Linked DNA regions of Homo sapiens: regions 1 and 3 are each linked to region 2. Evidence: promoter capture Hi-C in 16 types of primary human blood cells and fetal thymus (Javierre and others, 2016). All regions are on one chromosome and are shown on one strand. Each heading gives the region's core, a stretch centred on a gene start or on the middle of the fragment in contact. The rest is flanking DNA. Distances are from core to core; before and after follow the strand shown.

Evidence for each region. Contacts are between HindIII fragments. The CHiCAGO score rates a contact against its expected background, and 5 or more counts as called.
Region 1: a contact is called between a fragment that was not itself captured here and the fragment with the promoter of NOL8 in region 2, in 1 of 17 cell types (megakaryocytes). The highest score is 5.4, in megakaryocytes.
Region 3: a fragment that was not itself captured here is called in contact with the fragment with the promoter of NOL8 in region 2 in 1 of 17 cell types (M2 macrophages); the score reaches 6.0 in M2 macrophages.

The regions. Positions count from the first base shown.
Region 1 is chr9:92,467,007-92,470,303 of GRCh38, forward strand. The region is part of intron 5 of CENPP (centromere protein P); the gene reads left to right. The region is part of intron 3 of ASPN (asporin); the gene reads right to left. Among named protein-coding and RNA genes, the nearest start is that of ASPN, 14 kb to the right of the region's middle. The HindIII fragment of the contact is 3,693 bases long and covers 1-3,297 here.
Region 2 is chr9:92,323,075-92,326,662 of GRCh38, forward strand. NOL8 (nucleolar protein 8) reads right to left here and starts at 2,276. Exons shown (of 17, transcript NM_017948.6): 1 at 2,232-2,276; 2 at 949-1,135; 3 at 367-429. The coding sequence starts at 1,087. CENPP (centromere protein P) reads left to right here and starts at 2,879. Exons shown (of 8, transcript NM_001012267.3): 1 at 2,879-3,031. The coding sequence starts at 2,925. RefSeq lists enhancers at 1,558-2,446, 2,225-2,344, 2,375-2,484. The HindIII fragment of the contact is 10,709 bases long and covers 1-3,588 here.
Region 3 is chr9:92,574,231-92,577,822 of GRCh38, forward strand. All of the region lies in intron 5 of CENPP (centromere protein P), which reads left to right. Among named protein-coding and RNA genes, the nearest start is that of ECM2, 40 kb to the left of the region's middle. The HindIII fragment of the contact is 2,459 bases long and covers 895-3,353 here.

The sequences.
Region 1 (3,297 bases), core at 310-2,809, 140 kb after region 2:
CATATTTACTAATGTTTACCATTTCTCCCAGAACAGAGGCCTGTAAGGAAAAAAATCCTACCATGTGCCCTCAGCATTCTGGCATATTTTAGATATTGGGGATATAGTAATGGATCCTGAGAAATGACTCAATCTCTTATCAGTTTTTTGGGTATTTCTCAGGGCAATAAGACAGCATCCTCCAGAGGAGGTCTAATAACTCCAGAGAGTAAAAAGAGCTCGTACCAGTGTGAGTGTGCTCTCTGCACAAGTCTTTTGCAACATGTCCAAGGGTGCATGGCTGCTTGGGTGACCAGCCATCTCAGTCTGCCCAGATCATGAGATTATGGGATGTGGGGATTTCAGAACCCAAACTGGGAATGTCCTAGGCAAACTGGGACATGTTGGTAACTCTGATAAGGATTTTCATTGCAAAATGAGCATAGCTCAGTTCTTTACTCTTTGCCAGATTGTTCAAAGAGAATTTCTGTGTTTACCAAGAATGATGACAGGCCACTAAGCGTCTTCAGGACCTTTTTGTCCCTCTTTACCAATCCAGGTCATCTGATTTTCTCAAGGAGCAGCTCTAGATTCATTCATTTTATGATTTTGTTCTCAAATTCATTTCACAAAAATCTCCCTTTGTTTAATATGCCTCACTGGTATTACTCATATTGTTGTTGTTTTTCCATGGCAGAAATACACATTTTGGTTGCTCAGTAAACTTGTATCTGCACGTTTCCTCATCTCACTCTTGGCCCTTTGTGCTTTCCTTTTCTCACCCTCTGGAAATTCCAGATATATCACTATTGCTAAAAGTTTCACCAAGAAAGGGTAAGCCTAGGAGAAGAGGTGAAACTACATTTTGTTACCAACTGGTAAAATATCCTCGTTTGTGAGTGTGTGATGCCAACTAAAAGTATCTTCTCTTTTCCTTTGGTTACACTGAAAAATGAGGTGAGGGGAATTTAACAACTTGGTGGATCATCAAGATGGTTTGTGAATCCTCTCTTGATTCCAAGAGGTAAATTTAGCAGGAATTATTACTCTCCTTTTAGTGATGAGGAAATGCGTAAAGTGAAGAAAGGTGACTTGCCTATGCCATGCAACAAGTGAGGGTTAGAGAGGCCCCACCACAAAGTGAACCTGTGCGTCAGTGAGATCCAAGTCTAGTGCACTGGGCTTTTATTAGTTTGTTTTTCCTAATTAAAACATGCAGTTGTTGGAACTGCATAAAAGGAAGGAAAAGTAATACAAAACTGTGTAAGAGGTTTTGTGCAGCACTGGTAAGAGCCGCGCCACATGGTGGACTGCCTGCCCTGCATGGTGAGCTGGCTGAGTGATCCAGTTAAACTGCACTCTCAGTGCTGGCTTGATTATCACAGAGCTTCCAATTCATCATTAACAAACAGTGTAAGGACAGAAGATGAGAAGAGCATAGCCATTCAGTAGTAGGACAGTGATTCATGCCACATGTGTCTCATAATGGCTGGAAGTGAGCTGGGAGGGCTGTGATTGTGTTCAGTGATTTTGCTCTGACTGTATCATCCTTTGTGTAAGAACCCAAGTGCCAAACAAGCAGCTAAAACTTAACACAGAGAATTTGTAGAATGTCTAAAAAATAGTTTGATTCTCTTAAAAGACAGGTACCATATAAGGTGATACTATAATTATATAAATGTTTTGTAATTGTGTGGTATACCTACAATTCAAGTATAAAGCATGTACTTTAAAAAGTGATTTACATCAGTACACCTGGTCAGTCTGCTAATAGTAGCTTGGCAGTAATACTACTTAACAGCTGGGGGCTTTCCCTCCATTGCTCTACACCTGACATGCATTTCTCAAAGGAAATCAAGTAGGTCTAAGAAAGCTCCTGATACCATTTAGTTTCTCATTTCCCTGTGAATAACAAGAATAAGTATGGACTAAGTCCCTGGAATGCTCCTAAAATGTAATAAAATAATGATATGATGAATTTAAAACTTTCATAGCCCCAGTATTAAATATGCCATTAGTTATTATTCTTGTGGTTATCTAAGCTGAAAAGGGGTTGAAGAAGTGGTAAACGCATCAACAGGCTATATTTCCAACTTCTGTTGGTGGAATAATGGCCTGCCATTCTCCAAAAGATTCTGTGGCCTAAAGTTAGTGGGGTGGACTGGGTGGATCCTCGGTGGAATCCATTGTGTCATTTCTGACTGTCTTAATGTTTTAGTGAGACCTAACTTATAAATATATGCTCTTCTAGTTGCTCTTTTATATTGATAATGGAGGCTTACCAGATCTGAGCTGCCTGCACACTTTGAAAGTGAAAAGAGCAGACAAGGTGCTGGCTACCTGACCGGGCAGTGTGAGAGCTGGATTTTGTAGGGAGGCTTGATGCAAGGATTGAGCATCCCTCAGTCTGCCTTAAGTATGATCAGCATGCATGTCCTCAATCCCAGGGTGACAGGGAGGAAGAGATGGGCCAGCAGGGTCCACTGCACTGACCCAGGGTGACAGGGAGGCATGGTGACCCCACATCTCTCAGACACAGGAACAGGCCAGGCCTGCATGGTAGCAAGGGGCTAATATTGTTATGGTATTTTCTACCCTGTTCTCTTAGTTTTATCTTATCTAGAGATGACAGACTTTAAATTTGTTTTCTCCAGCACAGCCTGAGAGTGTGGGGAAATGGCCTGGAATAGCCAGGCCTGGCTTACCACCTCAGATGATACAGAACCAGAGCTCTTCCTCTAACACCATGCCAGAGTCAGCGAGGCAGGAGCTGTGCTGAGGGGAGGCGGTGGCGGGGGAAATGAGGTGCTCCTCCAAACCCAATTTCAGACTAAATCAGAAATTTTACTTGCTAAAATCTGGAGACTTCGAAATGATTTTTTTGGTTTGTTTTTGTTTTTAAGACAGGGTCTTACTGTGTCACCCAGGCTAGAGTGCAGTGGCATAGTCACAGCTCACTGCAACCTCTACCTCTTGGCTAAGACTACGTGCACCACCACCATGCCAACTAATTTTGTATTTTTTATAGAGGTGGAGTCTTGTTGTGTTGCCCAGGCTGATCTCGAACTCTTGGGCTCAAGTGATCCGCCCGCCTTGGCCTCCCAAAGTGCTGGGATTATAGGCATGAGCCACCACACCCAGCCCAAAATGTTAAACATGGAAGTAGTAATCTTTTAAATCCTAGAATATTAAAATGATACTAATACAGTAAAGAAAAAATTCTTTTCTTCTTTAAAGATCCAATAAATAAGCCATACATGTATATATTAATCAATCAGATATATTCTGTGTGCTGCTGTTAGAGATTTGTGGTGTCTT
Region 2 (3,588 bases), core at 1,026-3,525:
CCTCAAGAGTGTTTAGTGACAAGGATTAGCTGTCAAAGAAATGATCAGACTGAGGGGGAATGTGGCATGATATTCAGTGGGATATATGTAACAGGCAGTTTCTATGAAAGTTTGGTCCCTTGTCCAAAATATTTGAGAATAGCAGTTTTAAGTAAACCCACCAGTAAAGTGCTACCATGTCTGCTGATGCCAAATGGAATGGACCTAAACCTGCTGAGTTATACGATACTGGAATTCTCTTCATCACTGCTGTCCCTCTGGATAACGTGAAAAATGGCTGTGGAGGTTTAGATTTAGAACCAGTTATTCCAAGTTACAGAGTCATACAAACTGGCAAACAGTATAGAAAATATATGATGATCTTACATTTTTTCAGGTCCGCTTCTGCTACACTGATGTTGATATATGCAAAAACTTTCTGTGGGTTTCCTAAAAAACAAACAAACAAACAAACAAAACAATTTATTTAAATTCTTATCCAGAGAGCAATGTAAAAACGGTTGTTTCTAAATTAAAAAAAAAAATAGCTCTTGAAAACTTATTATTTCAAAGATAAACCTTGTTTTTTATTGGCTATAAAAATAAGCATAATTATCAAAATATTCCAAAAAAAAAAAGAAGAAAATGTCCAGTAGTCAGATAAGGAAACATTTTGATTGTATGCTAGTGATAGTCTACTTAACGGGACACTTAATCCATGTTAGAAAATTCTAGTTCTCAAAACTGGAAGTTAATATGTTTCTGAAATCAGATGTTTTAGAATTTGGAATTTTTTCTTATTTCAGAAACAAATTCTGGTCAAGTTCCACATCACACATTATACCTCCACAACATCACTTAAAACTTTTGGTGTTCAGAGCTAACATTTATCTTGGGGTTGTTTTATTTTCTAGCACTTAACCTGAGTTATGTCTGCCTATAACTGCCCAGTGAAGGACCATAAATTACCTTGGTCATCTTTCCGTGTGATGATCTCCACATCCGAAACTTCTCCAAATCTGCTGAACTGATTTTGTAGGTCTGCCTCAGAAATGTCCTGGCTAAGGCCACCCACATAAAGGCGCTTCGTTTCTCTGTTCACTTTCATGAAGGCTGGGCATATACTTGGGTGTGTTTCAGTGGGAAAAGTAATTTTCTGTATACAGAGAAGAGTTCTTTCCCTTAGTTCTTCTAAAATCTAACAAAACAACTACTTCCTCTGAACCTTCTGTATCAAATCCGTCTCCTGGATCTGTATTTCACTTCCTATTGTATTACTTCCAAATTTTAGTCTTCGAGGTTTTGCCCAAGCCCTACATCCACATCTTTCATGAATGCACTTTGGAACAGCAACCCCATACCCATATAGACACAGGTACAGACAGAGTTTTTTTCCTCCAAATGGCCATAATATTACACTCTATCCCTCTTAATTTTATGTATTCATGTTTTTAGATGTTTTTCCTTGACTCACTCATACATTCATTTACTGTCTTTAACAAAGTCTGACAGAAACAGGATGTAACGCACTAAAAGATAAAAAGAGCTAGCCTACCTCTTCCTAATTGTCTCCACCCCCAACCTACCCACCCCAGCCTTCTTCCTCCTAGAAGACCCAAAGAAGTGAATAGAGAGGCTAGGAGCTCCTTATAGTCACAAAAGAATAAAACAAATGGCACAATATTATGTCACAATAAAAGTGCTGCAAAGTGGGGTTCAGACACAAAGATCAAGGGATATAGCGAATACAGACTTGTGTTTTTGCTATGTGCCTGCATTGTACAAAGTAGTTTGCATGTTTCCCATTTTTCAGGAGAGCAGAAGAGGTTAAGTCACTTCCTCAATGCCATACCGAAAATTAGTGAATCCAGGATTATAATGCAGGTCTACCTTCAGAACTTGGAATTCTTAACACTATACTATGAAGGTTGCTGTATCACAGGGGACTCAGGAAAACTTTTCCAGAGGTACTAGGGCCCATCATAGTATCTCTCATTTCGTTTAGCACCCGGCAGGCGCTCAGCTCTCGCCCTTCCCTTCCCCAAGAGCTGACAGACTCTTTCCAGAAGAGACTCCCAACCAGCGTCCACCACATGGCGTGTATTCTGGGCAGAACTTCGGCCTACCTCTTCCCGATAGTCTCCGCCCCCAGCCTACCCACGGCAGCCTTCTTTCTCTGAGAAGACCCAAAGAAGTGAAGAGAGACTAGGAAACGGCCCTGTGACTTCTCATGCCCGAAACCCACTCCTCACCACGTCGTTCACCTAAAGCCAGCGCCGCTGCAGCCCCTAACTTCTGGTCACGTGTCCCAACGGAGCATCCTCTCTTCCTTCCTACTCGATTTCCAACCCAGCCTCCTAAGGTTCCGTTACCACAATTCAGTTCCCAAGAGCTTTTAATTTCCTTTTCCGTCCTCCCACCTTCCCTGACGCCTCCGTCACCTCCCCCTCAACGACTGCAAAAGAGCCTAAACCAAAATCCCCTAGTTTCTATTGAACACTATCGCTGTGTGTACCAATTCCTGGACTAGGTCGGCGTAAGAGAGGAAGTAGGTGAAAAAAATAAAGAGGCGCTCCCCTCCACGTGATCCCAGCCCTGCCTCTTTAGTGAGGCACGCGGCCGGGCGGCTCCAAGGCTGCCGGCTAGGGTGAGCAGCGGAGCGCTTGGGCTTGGAGTAGCAAAGAACGCGCTCTCCAGAGAAAGTATAGCCACTGCTTAGACAGCCAGGGAAACGTGTGCGGGGAAGTGGAGGACTCAGGCTCTCGTGCGAGAGCGGAGTTGGACGTGCAGGGCCGCTGGGGTCACGCGGAGCTCTCCCGCCTCCCCTCCGCGTGAGCTCTGGGATGGTCCGCGCCGGGAGCGCGCGCGAGGCTTGAAGCGCGGGTGAAGCGCGCAGGTCGGAGTGACAGCTGCGCTGCCGGCCCGGCTGCGGTCAGCAACGCGCCATGGACGCAGAGCTGGCAGAGGTGCGCGCCTTGCAAGCTGAGATCGCGGCCCTGCGGCGAGCGTGTGAGGACCCACCGGCGCCCTGGGAAGAGAAGTCCCGAGTCCAGTACGTGACCACCCCAAGTCCCCCAGGGCCCGCTGGCCAGGGTTCCCGGGCCAGGCGGGTGAATCTCCACAGACATCCTCGGTCTCCTACTCCCAGCCCTAGAAAGTGGGCATGAACTGGCATTGATCCTGTCATGACGATGGCCTAGAGTTGGGAGCAGCGCGTACGGCGCCCAGCTGTAAACGCATTGCAGGGTATTAACTCGTTTAATCGCAGTCGTCTGTGTGGATGACTGACAAGGAGGAAGTCTTGACTATATCCCTAGCTAGATAATTCCGCCTCCAGTATGCAGAAGTATCTCTAGTTGGGATTTAATAACTCCGTTTGGTTTCATGGCATTTGTTTTGGTAGGTCAGCTAACCATCTCAACTGATAATGACTTTGTGTTTACGATGACATAAAAATTCCTTTGAAAAATAACTTCGGTAAAAAACTAAGTTGATAAAAGAAAAGTAGTTAATATAGACTGCAGGAGAATTTGACATTCCTCTGAGGTAGGTGCTACTGTTAGCCCTGTTTTATAGTTGAAGAAACTGAGGCTCAGAGAAGTTAGGTAG
Region 3 (3,592 bases), core at 874-3,373, 250 kb after region 2:
TTTTTTTTAATGATGTAACTATAGGCTGTCTACAAGTTAAATTATGTTTACAGATTATGTGATCTATATGTAAAAAACTAAGGATTCTACCCCCAAAAACCTGTGAAAACAAATAAATTCAGCAAAGTAGCAGAATACAAAGTGAACACACTAAAATTGGTTAGAAAAACAATAACAAAAATGGGTTGGATTTCTATACACTAACAGTGAACAATATCTGGAAAGGAAATTACAAAAACAATTTTGTTACAATAGCATAAAAAAAGAATAAAATACCTAGGAATTAACCAAGAAGGTGAAAGATTTGTACAATGAAAACTTCAAAACATTGCTGAAAGAAAATAAGACATAAATCAGTGGAAACACGTCCCAAATTCATGGATTGGAAGACTCTGTGTTAAGATGTCAGTACTACTCAAAGCAATCTACAGATTCAATGAAATCTCTATCAAAATTCCAGTGATGTTTTTCGCAGAAATAGAAAAACTCATTCTAGAATTCACATGGAATCTCAAGGGACCCTGAGTAGCCAAAACAATCTTCAAAAAGAACAAAGCTGGAGGACTCATTTCTTAATTTCAAAACTTACTACAAAGCTACAATAATCAAAACAATGTAGGACTGATTTAAAGACAGACATTGGCTAATGGAATAGAATACAGAGTCCAAAATGAACCCACCCGTACTTAGTCAAATGAATTTTGACTAATGTGCCAAGACCATTCAATGGGGAAATGACATTCATTTAACACATGGTGCCTGGAAATCTGGATATCCACATGCAAAAGTATGAAGTTGGAACCTTAGCTAACACCATATACAAAAATTAACTCAAAATGGATCAAAGACCTACATGTAAAACCTAAAAGTATAATAGTCTTAGAAAACAGGAAAAGCTTCACTACATTGGATTTGGCAAGTGATTTCTTAGATATGACAGCAAAGGTATAGTCAACTTAAGGAGAAGAGACAGATTGGACTTAGTGAAAATGTAAAAGTTTTGTGTACTAACAGACATTATGAACAGTGAAAAGGCAACTCACAAATAGGACAAAATTTTGCAAATCATGTATCTGATAAGGGATTATAATACAGAATATAAAGAGAACTCCTAAAACTCAACACCAAAACAACTCTGTTCAAAAATGGGCAAAGGACTTGAATAGACATTTCTCCAAGAACATATACACAAATGGCCATTAAGTACATGAAGAGATGCTCAACATCACTAATCATTAGGGAGCTACAAATTAAAATACAGTGAGATACCACCTCACACCCATTAGAATGTCTCCTATCCAGGCTGGGCGCGGTGGCTCACGCCTGTAATCTCAGCACTTTGGGAGGCCAAGGCAGGCAGATCACGAGGTCAGGAGTTCAAGACCAGCCTGGCCAACATGGTGAAACCCCGTGTCTACTGAAAGTACAAAAATTAGCTGGGCATGATGGCGTACACCTGTAATCCCAGCTACTTGTGGGGTTGAGACAGGAGAATTGCGTGAACCTGGGAGGTGGAGGTTGCAGTGAGCCGAGATTGCACCACTGCTCTCCAGCCTGGGTGACAGAGTGAGACTCCATTTCAAAAAAAAAAAGAATGTCTCCTATCCAAAAAACAGAAAATAACAAGCACTGGCAAGAAAGTAGAAAAATTAGAACCGTTGCGCGCTGTTATAGTAGGGATATAAAATGGTACAGCTGCTATAGAAAACAGCATAGCAGTTCCTAAGAAAATTAAAAATAGAATTACCATGTGATCCACTGATTTCACCTGAGGTACATGCCAGAATAACTGAAAGCAGAGTCTTCAGATATTTCTACCCCTATGTTCACAGCAGCATTATTCACCGTAGCTATAACATTGGAAGCAATCCAAGTGTTCATCAAAGGATAAATAGATAAACAAATGCAGTCTGTCCATATAATGGAATATTATTCAGCTTAAAAAGGAAGGAAATTCTGATATGTGCTACAAAATGGATGAAGTTTGTGGACATTATGCTAAGTGATATAGCCAGTCACAAAAAGACAAATACTGTATGATTTCACTTACATGAGGTACTTAGAGTAGTCTAAATAGGAGAGATTTAGGGTGGTTGCTAAAGGCAAAGGGAGGAAGGAATGGGGAGTCAGTGTTTAATAGGTGTCAAGTTTCGATTTTACAACAGGAAAACAGTTATGAAAATGGACAGTGGTGATGGTTGCACAACATTATGAATATATTTAATAGCACTAAACTTAAACCACTTAAAAGTGGTTAAGATGATAAATTTTATGTTATCTGTATTTTACAACAATAATTTTTAAAAATCATAATGCATTGTATGCCTGTTTGTTGATGTGGGATATTTATTATGGGATATGTATATCTATTGATATCTCATATCAATAAATAGGCATACAATGCATTAAGATTTAAATAATAATTGTTATATATAATGTTTATTATTTAAATCATAATGCATTACATGTGTATACATAATGGCTTAAATATGATTTAAATCATATTTTGGCAGTGTCTCAGCCTCTCCCAAAGTGTACAGATTATTACAGGCATGAGCCACCATGCCAGGCCAGAATATATCTTGGAAACAGTAAATAAGTAGTATGTATGGCAGGTAAAGACAGACAACTCAGTATGAAAATAGGTAAGCAATTTGATCAGACCGTTTGCACCAAAAATACTAACAAAATTCAAATGGTGAGTAAACAAATGTAAGTGTTAAATCCATTAATAAAAGAAAAGCAATTTTAAATCATTATGAGATTCCATAGCATACCTACCAGAATGGTGGGTATTAAAAAGAATATTAAAAAGACTAACCCTGCCAATTATTAGGATATGGAACAATAGATATTCTCATATACTGCTGATGGAACTGTAAACTGACAAAAATACTTAGACATTATCTGTAAAATTTGAAGATTCACATATCCCTAGGTGTGTGTGTATATATATATCCAAAGAAACATGTGCACATGTATATCAAGAAACACGCACAGGGGCTGGGTGCAGTGGCTCACGGCTGTAATCCCAGCACTTTAGGAGGCTGAGGCAGGCTGATCACTTGAGGCCAGGAGTTCAAGACCAGCCTGGCCAACATGGCAAAACCCTGTCTCTACTAAAAATACAAAATATTAGCTGGGCATGGTGGCGGGCACCTGTAGTCCTCACTACTCGGGAGGCTGTGATGTATTCTTATTATGAAATACCATTTAGAATTGAGAAGAACAACACCATGGAGCTACATACGACATCATAAATGAATCTCCCAAACAAAATACTGAGCAATATAAGTCAAAATATATGTTTTATGATTCTATATACATGAAGTTTAGAAACAGGCAAAAAAATAAGCTTTCTTGTTTAGGGGTGCATACTTAAGTAAGGAAAAAATCTAAGGGAAAAGAAAAGCAAGGAAGGTATTTGTAGAAAAATCAAGATAGCTGGGCATAATGTTATGCCCCTATAGTCCCAGCTACTTGGAAGCTGAGGTGGGAAGATTGAGCCCAGGAGTTCAAGTCTGGCCCGGGCAACACAGGGAGACCCTATCTTTTATTTATTTATTTATTTATTTATTATTATTATACTTTA